3 separate regions of the Homo sapiens genome follow, and all the other regions are linked to region 3. Evidence: promoter capture Hi-C in human tissues and cell types (Jung and others, 2019). All regions are on one chromosome and are shown on one strand. Each heading gives the region's core, a stretch centred on a gene start or on the middle of the fragment in contact. The rest is flanking DNA. Distances are from core to core; before and after follow the strand shown.

What was found. Contacts are between HindIII fragments. The study calls those that stand out against the background at their distance.
Region 1: a fragment that was not itself captured here is called in contact with the fragment with the promoter of PTPN1 in region 3 in 1 of the 25 tissues and cell types used here (spleen).
Region 2: a fragment that was not itself captured here is called in contact with the fragment with the promoter of PTPN1 in region 3 in 1 of the 25 tissues and cell types used here (spleen).

Annotation. Positions count from the first base shown.
Region 1 is chr20:49,287,624-49,291,685 of GRCh38, forward strand. ZFAS1 (ZNFX1 antisense RNA 1) reads left to right here. Exons shown (of 4, transcript NR_036658.2): 4 at 1,422-1,637. Among named protein-coding and RNA genes, the nearest start is that of SNORD12, 9.0 kb to the left of the region's middle. RefSeq lists enhancers at 1-544, 2,714-2,823, 3,859-3,958. The HindIII fragment of the contact is 4,845 bases long and covers 1-4,029 here.
Region 2 is chr20:49,059,324-49,063,120 of GRCh38, forward strand. All of the region lies in intron 2 of CSE1L (chromosome segregation 1 like), which reads left to right. Among named protein-coding and RNA genes, the nearest start is that of CSE1L, 15 kb to the left of the region's middle. The HindIII fragment of the contact is 4,419 bases long and covers 1-3,767 here.
Region 3 is chr20:50,508,262-50,512,372 of GRCh38, forward strand. PTPN1 (protein tyrosine phosphatase non-receptor type 1) reads left to right here and starts at 2,122. Exons shown (of 10, transcript NM_002827.4): 1 at 2,122-2,329. The coding sequence starts at 2,267. RefSeq lists enhancers at 1,296-1,883, 2,096-2,195 and a silencer at 1,756-1,985. The HindIII fragment of the contact is 10,222 bases long and covers 1-3,311 here.

The sequences.
Region 1 (4,062 bases), core at 357-2,856, 1.2 Mb before region 3:
CAATTGATTTTACTTAATTCTTGTGAGGTTCAGTTATAAGATTCATCATACTACTACCATGAGCCATCCTCAGCTCCTTGTTACATGGGCCTGTTAACATGGCAGCTTTGTCTATAAGCAAACCCAGGAGAGAAAGACATAGCAGAGATGGATGTTTGAAGTCTATACCTTCCACCCCCTTTAAAGAGAAAGTAACACCACTCCTTTTCTGTGTCCCTTGGGGACACTACCTCCATGTCTGGTCACATGGCTGGACTTTACAGCAGATAAGCATACTGTGGCCTGAGACCATGATTGTATGCTTTCCTTCTGCTGACCTTTACAATCCCTCAATAAATTGAGCTAACACAGGGAAGCTTTTTTACCAAATAACTGTGTTGCATCATCCTCCAGTTTGCCTGGTGTCCTTAATCAATGGAAGGGGAATAAGCAAACTGAGTTTTCTTACACCTTTTGAGTATAGTGTTTTTGCCATCATAGATGTGGCTCCTCATAATTCTCCAACTTTTATATTAAAAAACCAAAACCTCAAAAATTGTAGTTCATGTCAGTCAGTGATGACTCATCTTAGAAGTATTTTGTTTTTGGATGTGTGAATGTGCATAGTTCTTAAAGTCCAACATTCATGTAATAAGACATCTTGCATATAACAATGACCCTTACGTCTAAGATGTTAAATAGATCCTAAGCCTGGTATAACTTTATTCAAGTATCCTTATTTGCCCCTAAAATGTCTTTAATACACATTACTTGGGTTATTTCTTGAATGAACATACAGGTATCCCAATTTCTGTTTTTAAGAGAATGGGGTCTTGCTCTGTCACCCAGGCTGGAGTGCAGTGGTGCAGTCATGGCTTACTGCATCCATGATCCTCCTGCCTCAGCCTCCCAAGTAGATGGGACTGAAAGCACACACTGCCATCCCTGGCTAATGTTTTCATATTTTGTAGAGTTGCAGCCTTGCTACGTGACCCAGGCTGGAGTGTAGTAGCTATTCACAGGCATGATTGCTTGAAACTCATGGCTTCAAGGGAAACTCCCACCCTCAATATCCTCAGTAGCTGCAACTACAGCCATACCCCCCACTGCTCAGCTTCTCATCCTTTAAAAGATTTTTACTGGTAGTGTCCTCATTCTGGGTTTTTGTCTTCTGTGTTTACTGTGACATGAAGTCATTTTTAGATGAAGGTTAAACATTTTGCCAACGCAGGTACAATATGGGATTCAATAAAAGTACAGAATTAAAGTTGTCTTATTAGAGATTGGGAAGTTTCCCAGCTCCGTTTATCGGTACTTGGCCGTACCGATAAAGGGGATGGACTTGGAGTGACCAGGTCTTAGTCACATGTATTTTCATACCCTAAACAAGAAGCGGTATAGACCAGAATGGAGCACTGATTGTAATCCACCTTCTTTCTTAGAAACTGGCGATGGAATATGAGAGGAGCCCTCTGGAAAGAAAAGGACAGACCCTGTGCTTTCATGAAAGTGAAGATCTGGCTGAACCAGTTCCACAAGGTTACTGTATACATAGCCTGAGTTTAAAAGGCTGTGCCCACTTCAAGAATGTCATTGTTAGACTTTGAAATTTCTAACTGCCTACCTGCATAAAGAAAATAAAATCTTTTAAATCAAAATGCTGTTTTGTTTGGCCATTGGAGATAACCATTGAACAGGGATAACAAGTAGTAGTTAGGTATTTGCAGTTTCATTTGGTTTTAGTTTTTTGAGGGGAGAATCACCCTAGTGGGCAGTTGGTTTCTGTGGGCAAAGCCTGCTTTCCACAGGTATTGTGCCTCGTGATTGGCTTCTGCATTGGAAACCTAAGAATAAGCAAGCACACTTGGGCCAGAATTCAAAGCAGAGGGTCAATACAGAGGTATCTCACTTGTATGCTTACACCTGCACAAGATCGTGTATGTTAAATCGTGGGTATTAGGCCTTAATGGTTGCATGAGATGAGTAAGGATGATGTGGGCTATGGTATTTGTTTATAAACTTCATAGGAAATTGCAAAAATAGGCTGCATCATTTATCAATATGTGATGATTTTTTATTTAAAATACACAGTGAATAATTTTTTAAGTATCTTAAAATCTCACCTCAAAGATGGGACCTCTAGATTTCTTTTTTTTTTCTGAGGCAGAGTCTCGCTGTGTCACCCAGGCTGGAGTGCAGTGGCATGATCTCAGCTCACTGCGAGCTCTGCTTCCTGGGTTCACATTCTCCTGCCTCAGCCTCCCAAGTAGCTGGGACTACAGGTGCCCGTCACCACGCCCGGCTAATTTTTTGTATTTTTAGTAGAGACGGGTTTTCGCTGTTTTAGCCAGGATGGTCTTGATCTCCTGACCTTGTGATCTGCCCACTTCGGCCTCCCAAAGTGCTGGGATAACAGGCATGAGCCACTGCGCCCAGCCTGGGACCTCTAGATTTCTAAAATGACTCCTGGTATTGACTCAGAATCCCCTCCCCTTGACTAGGCTGGACCTAGTGTAACTTCTGAGACTTGCTAGCTCTTTTTCTCATTCTCCTTGGCTTGCTCACTTTTTTTTTTTTTTTTTGAGATCTCAGCTCACTGCAACCTCCGTCCCCTGGGTTTAAGCAAATTCTCCTGCCTCACCCTCCCGAGTAGCTTGGATTACCACGCCTGGCTAATTTTTGTATATTTAGTAGAGGGGGTTCACCATGTTGGCCAGGCTGGTCTTGAACTCCTGACCTCAAGTGATCTGCCTGCGTCAAGCCTCCCAAAGTGTTGGAATTACAGGCGTGAGCCACCACGCCTGGCCTAGCTTGCTCACTTTTAATTAAGCTGCCATGTTGGGAGAGGCCAGCGTAGCAATCAACTGAGGTTGAACCATTAGTGTGGGAGGAGTTACCCAACAACCATGTGAGTTTGTAAGCACGTCTTTCTGTAGCGGAGGCTTGTGAGAAACCCTGAGAGCGGACCCACCCAGATTGTGCTTGGATTTCTGACCTATGGGAAATGTATTTCAAGCCACTAGGTTTTGAGATAACTTGCTACAAAGCAGTAAATTCACAACTCTATAATGCCCACTCTAAAGGTCCTGACATGGGCATCTCCATTACCTAAGTCAACTGATGCTACTTCAATTTCTCCACGTAGCATTTGAAGCGTTTATGTCTGGCCCCAGCCTACATTTTCAGACTTATTTGTGCATTTGACTTAACATGTCCAAAACTAAATGCCTGATGCTTCACTCACCTAACCCCATTCCCTGCAAGTCTGTGCTTCCTGCGATCTTCCCTTCCCAGGTATTGGCAACACCAGAAGTCCAGTTGGTCAGGAGCTGTGGAATCAACCTCATGTACCATGTGAATCCCTTGGCAAATGCTATTGGTTCTACCTTCAAAATACATCTGAAACCCACCCCCTCTTAGCGTCTTCATTGCTACCACCTTGGTACAAACCATCAAACAAGCTTGGAATACTGGTCTCTACTTCAGCCTTTGCTCCCTACGATCAATTGAGATGCAACCAGAGCGATCTGTGAAAACCTGAATTAGGTATGGAGCTCTCTGCTCAGAAGCCTCCAGTGTCTTCCCCACCTCACACAGTAAAAGCCAAAGTCCATCAGGGCCTACATGATCTTCCCCTTCCCTTAACCTCTAACTTCATCTCTTCCCTTTCAATCTTAGCCACATGGGCCCCCTGACTTCTCCATTCCTTTAGGATTACTCCAACCTCAGTATCTTAGCACTTGATTTTCCCACTGCCTGGAATGATCAGCCCTAGACCCCCAGAGCTTTGCACAGCCCTCTGCCTTGTGTCATTCAGGTATTTGCTCTCACTCCCTCTGGGGAACTGTCTAATCATCTCTATCACTTTCTATTCCCTTATCTTGTTTTTTATTTTTTTAAATAGAAACTGTTGCTCAGGCGGGTCTCAAACTCCTGGGCTTAAGGGATCCTCCCTATTTGGCCTCCCAAAGTGCTAGAATTACAGGCATGAGCCACCATGCCTGGCCATGTTTTTACTTAGTGCCTAACAGGTACTGCCTATGTGTATAGTATATACATGCATGTACATATACATCTATGTAT
Region 2 (3,797 bases), core at 308-2,807, 1.4 Mb before region 3:
GATTCCATTAAAAACGTAGAATTAAAATATTGAACTCAGGTGTTCACAGGACTCAGCTGTTAAGTTAAATGAGGGAGATAGGCCAAGTGGAGACTGGTAATATCAGGAGAATACATGCCCTGATTAAGTGGCAAGTACTTTTTGGAACTAGCTAATTTTGGGGATTCAGACTAGTTTTGCAAGATCAGATTTCCAGTTTTGCTTGAAAAATAAGGATATTTATATGAAGTGCCCTCATTTTTAAATGTTAGCAAGTAACTTCAAAAGATTTTGGGGCCGGGTGCGGTGGCTCACGCTTGTAATCCCAGCACTTTGGGAGGCCGAGGTGGGCAGATCACGAGGGCAGGAGATCGAGACCATCGTGGCTAATATGGTGAAACCCCTTCTCTACTAAAAAATACAAAAACTTAGCTGGGTGTGGTGGCACACACCTGTAGTCCCAGCTGCTCAAGAGGCTGAGGCAGGAGAATTGCTTGAACCTGGGAGGTGGAGGTTGCAGTGAGTTGAGATTGCGCCACTGCACTCCAGCCTGGGTGACAGAGCGAGACGTAGTCCCAAAAAAAAAAATATTTTGAAACACAGCCAGGGTTGGTGGTCACGCCTTTAATCCCAGTAATTTGGGAGGCCAAGGCAGGAAGATCCCTTGAGTCCAGGAGTTCGAGACCAGCCTGGGCAACAAAGCAAGACCCTGTCTCTACAAAAAATTTAAAAATTAGCCAAGTGTGGTGATGTGTGCCTGTATTCCTAGCAACTGGGGAGGCTGAGACAAAAGCTTCACTTATACCCAAGAGGTCGGAGCTGCAGTGAGTTATGATCATGTCAGTGCACTCTAGCCTGGGTGACAGAGGGAAATCTTGTCTTAAAAAAAAAAAAAAAAAGGCCAGGTGCATTTGCTCACGCCTGTAATCCCAGCATTTTGGGAAGCCAAGGCAGGCGGATCATGAGGTCAAGAGATCTAGACCATCCTGGCCAATGTGGTGAAACCCTGTCTCTACTAAAAATACAAAAATTAGCTGGGCGTGGTGGTGCACGGCTGTAGTCCCAGATACTTGGGAGGCTGAGGCAGGAGAATTGCTTGAATCCAGGAAGCGGAGGTTGCAGTTAACCGAGGCCACTGCACTCCAGCCTGGTGACAGAGCAAGACTCCGTCTCAAAAGAAAAAAAAAAATTGGACAGGCACATTTGCTCACGCCTGTAATCCCAGCACTTTGGGAAGCCCAGGAGGGCAGATCACCTGAGGTCAGGAGTTTGAGACCAGCCTGGCCAACATGGTGAAACCCTGTCTTTACTAAAAATACAAACATTAGCCAGGCATGGTAGCATGTGCCTGTAACCCCAGCTACTTGGGAGGCTGAGGTGCAAGAATCGCTTGAACCCAGGAGGTGAAGGTTCCAGTGAGCCAAGATTGCCCAACTGCACTCCAGCCTAGGTGACAGAGTGAGACTTTGTCTCAAAAAAAAAAAAAATTGAAATACAGTGCAAGCCAAACTACTTCTGGGCCAGATATATCTTGTGAGCAGTCAGTTATTGATCCTTGATATGGGCCATATTAAAATGCTCTTGACCTGTTTCTTCAAAACTTACCAATGTGCATGCTCATAGAGGATGTTGGAAGGGTTCCATGAGGAAGAGAATGTGTGTTATATATTATGTATGATGACTAGAATCATGAACATGTTAATGCATCTATCCTCTTCTAGAAAAGTCTTTGTGATTTTTGAGAGGAAAAATTAGTTTATTAGTGTATAAAGAAGTAATGTGTTCCTGGATAAAGGGAAGTTAATGGCTCTAATCTTTAATCTTCTTAGACTTTCAAAGAAAGCTGTTGCCAACACTATTAAAAATTTTTTTTTTTTTTTTTTTTTTGGAGACGGAGTCTCCCTCTGTCGCCCAGGCTAGAGTGCAGTGGCGCCATCTTGGCTCACTGCAAGCTCCGCCTCCCGGGTCCACGCCATTCTCCTGCCTCAGCCTCCTGAGTAGCTGGGACTACAGGCGCCCGCCACCATGCCTACCTAATTATTTGTATTTTTAGTAGAGACAGGGTTTCACCGTGTTAGCCAGGATGGTCTCCATCTCCTGACCTCGTGATCCACCCGCCTCAGCCTCCCAAAGTGCTGGGATTACAGGCATGAGCCACCGTGCCCGGTGGAAAAATTATTATTATTATTTATTTATTTATTTATTTATTTATTTATTTTTGAGACAGAGTCTCACTCTTGCCCAGGCTGGAGTGCAGTGGCGCCATCTTGGCTCACTGCAAGCTCCACCTCCCGGGTTCACCCCATTGTTGTGCCTCAGCCTCCCGAGTAGCTGGGACTACAGGCGCCCGCCACCACACCCGGCTAATTTTTTGTATTTTTAGTAGAGACGGGTGTTTCACCAGGTTAGTCAGGATGGTCTCGATTTCCTGACCTTGTGATCCACTCGTCTCGGCCTCCCATAGTGCTGGGATTACAGGTGTGAGCCACCGCACCCGGCAATTATTTTTTTTTTAATAATGTGTGAGGCAAGAGTTCTGTTGCTTTATGTATTCAGGACAGAGTATAAAAATAATCTGGTATTTCTGGGAAGTTAGGAACATAGCATTTCTCAGGGATCGAGACTGACTGACTAGACTGACTCAACTAGACCTTTTGAGACTCCTTGAGTGCGCAGAAACATATGCATGTGAATATTGTGATAAGTTGAAAGAAATGAACACAGAAAGGAACAGACTCAAACTCACTTCCTGGATATTGATTACAATTTAGGAAAGAGACTTGGCAATTTATATGGGCTTTTCCTCAAATCATGGATGTAGTGTGTTGCCCTGTACAAAATGCTGGCTACTAAGTGGAGGAAACAAATTGTTCTGTACTCATATAAAACCATAGTATGTCCCCTCCTGAAAAACATTTTTCAGTTTAACAATCTTCATCCTTCAAGAAAGACATGATAAGCACAAAGCAAGGAGAGTTTGAAAATATCAGTGAAACTCTTGGGACTCAGTCAGAAAGAGGGAAGGTGTTAAATGATACATGAAATTAATTTTTCAAAAAATATTGGAATATTGGGTGTTGCCCTATGAAGCCAAAGGTAGAAAAAAATTAAGAGAAATACTGTACTGCCATCACATGTGATCATTAACCTAGGAAATTTATCCCAGAATGTAATCTGGGTTGAAAATCTATTGGTAAATTTTTTGGATAAATTCATTGCTGGTATTAAGAAGTTTTTAGGTTTTTTTTTAGTTCGACAAGAAAGCTTAGGGCTGGTAAGGTAAAATAAGGACTGCACTAAAACTTTCAGTAGTGAAGCCTAGCTGTGTGATCTTGAACAAGTTACTTAACCTTAGTGCCTTGGTTTTTTAAATGCTATCTACTTTTCTGGGTAATAGTGACAACTAAATGAAATTTTATAATTTTACATATATAATATATATGTAAATCGTTGGACCCATTTGGCTAATAATAATATATTAGGATGAATTGACTCATTTGCTCTTCATCACTAGCCTATAAAAGAAATATTACTACTAATAGTACTAATAATACTCCTTTCTGAAATAAGACCTGGGTATATGAAGTCTTGAAGCCACTTAATCTGCCTGGGAAGCAGCTTCTCTTGCAGATGAGATGATCATCCAATTAGGCCACTGTATAGGTTTGTGAGAATCATGTGAGTTAATTGATGGTAAAGTTATTTGAAAACTGAAGCATTATATAAGTTTAATGTAACATATATAATCCACTTAATAGATAAGAAAAGTGAGGCCCTGTAGACCCACAAATAACCTAATCTTTTCTCTTTTTTTGATT
Region 3 (4,111 bases), core at 872-3,371:
TGAATGGGAATGTGTACTTAGAATTCCAGGCATAGTGCCTGCCACAAGCACTCAAGGAATGAGCTGGAGTTCAGCTGATAATACCAGGCAGTGTCTCTGGGCAACACGGAATGAAGACAATTCTCTCTTCCAGGTTTTCAAACCTCCTGGAATTCACAACGTCCACATGACATGCCAGGCCCAGAGGGGGATGGTTTAAACTGGAGCCTGCAGGAAGGCAACCTGACCAACCTGCTCATGGGTGCTTTAAGGATCATAGGTACGAGAATCAGCTGGAGTTGTTGGTGAAAATGCAGATTCCGGGTCTCATCCCTAGACCAAAGATATCTGAATCATTTGGCGATGGGTCCAGGAACCTGCATTATTCAACACACTTCCCAGGTGACCGTAAATGTCAAAAGACAAAATTACAACAAACTTAAACATCTTAATTGGCTTCATTCATGATTCTAGAATCGGGCAAGACTTCATTCCTCAAAATAGCACAAGTGTCCCAATGAGCTGAGCAGAGGAGGTTGGTTTTATAGACAGAAAAGGGCTGAAAAAAGCAGAAACAAAGAACAAAAAGCAGATTGGTCATTTCAAAGTTACTTTCCTTGTAAGGCAGGAACAGGGAAACAGAACAAGAGAGAAATAACTGATTGGTCGCATCGGGTTACTTCAGGTTACTTTTTGTTGTAAGGATTAAAGCAAAGGGAACTTCATTATGTTGATTAAAACGGTCTGCTTGGGAAATCAGGGTGTGTATCTCTCTTCTGATTTTGTGAAAGGTTATCAGTCTGATGATGTAGAACTTTAGCATGAGTGACTCCATTTTGATTTTTAGTCTAGTCTGTTGAGACCCTAATGCCAGAACTTTTTTTGTTTGTTTGTTTCGCTCTTGTTGCCCAGGCTGGAGTGCAGTGGAGCTATCTTGGCTCACTGCAACCTCTGCCTCCAGGGTTCAAGCGATTCTCCTGCCTCAGCCTCCCAAGTAGCTGGGATTACAGGCATGCGCCACCACGCCCGGCTAATTTTTTTTTTTTTTTTTTTTTTTAGCAGAAACCGAGTTTCACCATGTTGGTCAGGCTGGTCTCGGACTCTTGACCTCAGGTGATCCACCTGCGTCGGTCTCCCAAAGTGCTGGGATTACAGGTGTGAGCCACCACACCCAGCCCTTTTTTTTCAAGACAGGGTCTCTCTCTGCCACCCAAGGTGGAGTGCAGTGGCGCCAAAACAGCTCACTGCAGCTTCCACCTCCTGGGCTCAGGTGATCTTCCTGCCTCAGCCTCCCCAGCAGCTGGGCCCCACCACACCGGCTAATTTTTTAACTTTTAGTAGTGACGAGGTCTGATTCTGTTACCCAGGCTGGTCTGGAACTCCTGGCCTCAAGACATCCGCCTGCCTCTGCCTCCCAAAGTGCTGGGATTACAGATGTAAGCCACCGCGCCTGGGCTCCTATGATTTTTATTTAACATAATGCACCATGGAATTTGTGCTCTGCTTAGTTCAGTCTGAGCAGGAGTTCCTTGATACTTCGGGAAACACTGAAAATCATTCCATCCCCATCCATTCATTCCTGCAGCACCCAAGTGGAAATTCTGCGTTTCAGACAGGGACACTACCCTTAGAGAGCAGTGGGCTTCCCCAGCAGCGTAGTGAAACATGATACTCCTGAGTTTCATGAAAAAAGGGCAGACATCTGGCCAGAGCTGGGAGGCAGGAAATAGAGCACGGTGCCCTCCTCCCATACTCCAGCTTGGATTACTGAGGCTGGGGCCCAGGCCCTGCAGGAAAGGAGGTGCATGACTACTTTAAGGCCACTCACTCTGTGACTCAACGGGCCGGGTCGGGGCTGGAACTCAATGCCCTCCCGGGCCTGGAGAGCCCACGCGCCGTGGGCGGGGCTCCCGGGGTCGCCTAGGCAACAGGCGCGCGCCGCGCCCGAGCCCAGAGCCCCAAAGCGGAGGAGGGAACGCGCGCTATTAGATATCTCGCGGTGCTGGGGCCACTTCCCCTAGCACCGCCCCCGGCTCCTCCCCGCGGAAGTGCTTGTCGAAATTCTCGATCGCTGATTGGTCCTTCTGCTTCAGGGGCGGAGCCCCTGGCAGGCGTGATGCGTAGTTCCGGCTGCCGGTTGACATGAAGAAGCAGCAGCGGCTAGGGCGGCGGTAGCTGCAGGGGTCGGGGATTGCAGCGGGCCTCGGGGCTAAGAGCGCGACGCGGCCTAGAGCGGCAGACGGCGCAGTGGGCCGAGAAGGAGGCGCAGCAGCCGCCCTGGCCCGTCATGGAGATGGAAAAGGAGTTCGAGCAGATCGACAAGTCCGGGAGCTGGGCGGCCATTTACCAGGTGCGGGAGCGCCCCGGAGCGTGGCGGGCCCTTCGCTTAGGCCGCTTGAACATCCCCTCAGACCTCCAGGCCCCAGACTCCCTCTGGGTCTTGCCCTCTGCCTCGCTCCTACTGCTTGAGGATTCGATGGGACAGCGACGCACTGCGTCCCCCCACCCTTTGTCCCCGGGGCGGGCGTGTTTCTCGCCGCAGCGTCGGAGCCCCCTTCGATCCCCCACCTCCCTTCTGTTCTCCAGCTCGGGTGATCTCTCAAGCCGGGGGACCGCCGGTCTGTGCTCTCAACGCGAATCCCTCGCACCCCGACCCCGCCCCCTGCCTGTCCACTCTTTGTCCCCTGGGGTGATTTAGCACCCCCACTATTTCCTTTTCTGGAGTGGACCACCTCAGACTCTCTTCCTTTGTCTCCCTGGGGGAAAAGGTTACTCCCCCCGTCCCTCCTTCACATTTCCTTTCCCCTAGTCTCAGTGTGCGTCGAGTCCCAGAGATGACAGTCCCCTTTCCCCTTTCTGTTCATTCATTTATTGGATAGGAGTTGGCAAGCTTATTCTGTGCTAGGCACCGCTTAGGCATTGGAGGTGGTGTTTGCTAATCAGGACAGGCAAGATCCTAGCCTTAGTGGGGCCTAGAGTCGAATAGGGCAATCAAACACAAAAGCAAATAATTTCAGATAGTGACAGGTGCTGTGAAGAGAACGACTTCCTAACGGGGTACAGGGTGACTGCATAGAAGGCCGGCTGTCTTAGAGAAGGGGATCAGGGAAGGCCTGTCAAAGGAGGAGACATTTGCTTTGTGAGCTGAACCAAGAGGAGCAGAAAGCCGTGAGAATATGGGGCTAAAGAACCTTCTAGCCAGGAGGCCTGCGGTACCCACTCCATTGGGGCCATGATATTATTCTTTCAGGCAGGGACTCAGGAAGGTTAACGTTTTAACCCTCTCTAAAATAGCATCTTTCCTCAATGAGCAGCTTAGTCTTTGGTCGTGGCAGAGATGACCTTGTCTTAGGAGTCATCTCCTTGTGTGTTAAAAAGTTAGGAAAGGAGGGTTTCTCATATATCTATAAAACAAGTAGTTAAAAACACAAAGAGCTCTTCCTTTCACAAGCAGCTGAATAAGATACATACTCCCAATTAAATGTCATTGCGGGGGTTGTTAAGATTAACTAAAACCACACTTGCACAGTATCTTAAATAAGCGATATACAGAATAGAGAGATTTTGTTACTTGTGTAAAGGGAGACAGCAGATGATTCTGTTTTCAGCTTATAGGCTCAAAAGGCAAATTGTGAGATCCATCAGCTGTAGTATTAAAATCTATTTTGAGCTCCGCTTAGAAAGGAAAAAAGGTTTAAGCAGTTCTTTGGTATGCTTGACTAACAAAAGCCTTTTTTTTTGGCAGCCTTGATTTTCATGTGGATTTACATCAAGCTTATTTGACAGGATTCTTTTTATTTGGACTGTAGTGTGTATATTAGTTTCTGCTAGACTAATATTTCTAACCACTGTAATCTATATACTAATAAGTATGATTGATCAGTATATAAAATTTGTATGCCATATCTGGTCTCTGAATTAGCTGAATGAATTCCATAAGGGACTTTGAGACTGTGTAGACAAATTTTCTGCATCAGTTTAATGCAGTAGAGTCTAAAATGTCTTTAAATGAAAATTGTTGGTCTGAAGTGTTGGAGTTGATTATGATACACCCCATCACAGTGGAAGCATTGTGGAGAGAAGTCTTTTCCACTGAAATTGACTGAGTTGACAACAAGAAATACGTATTGTA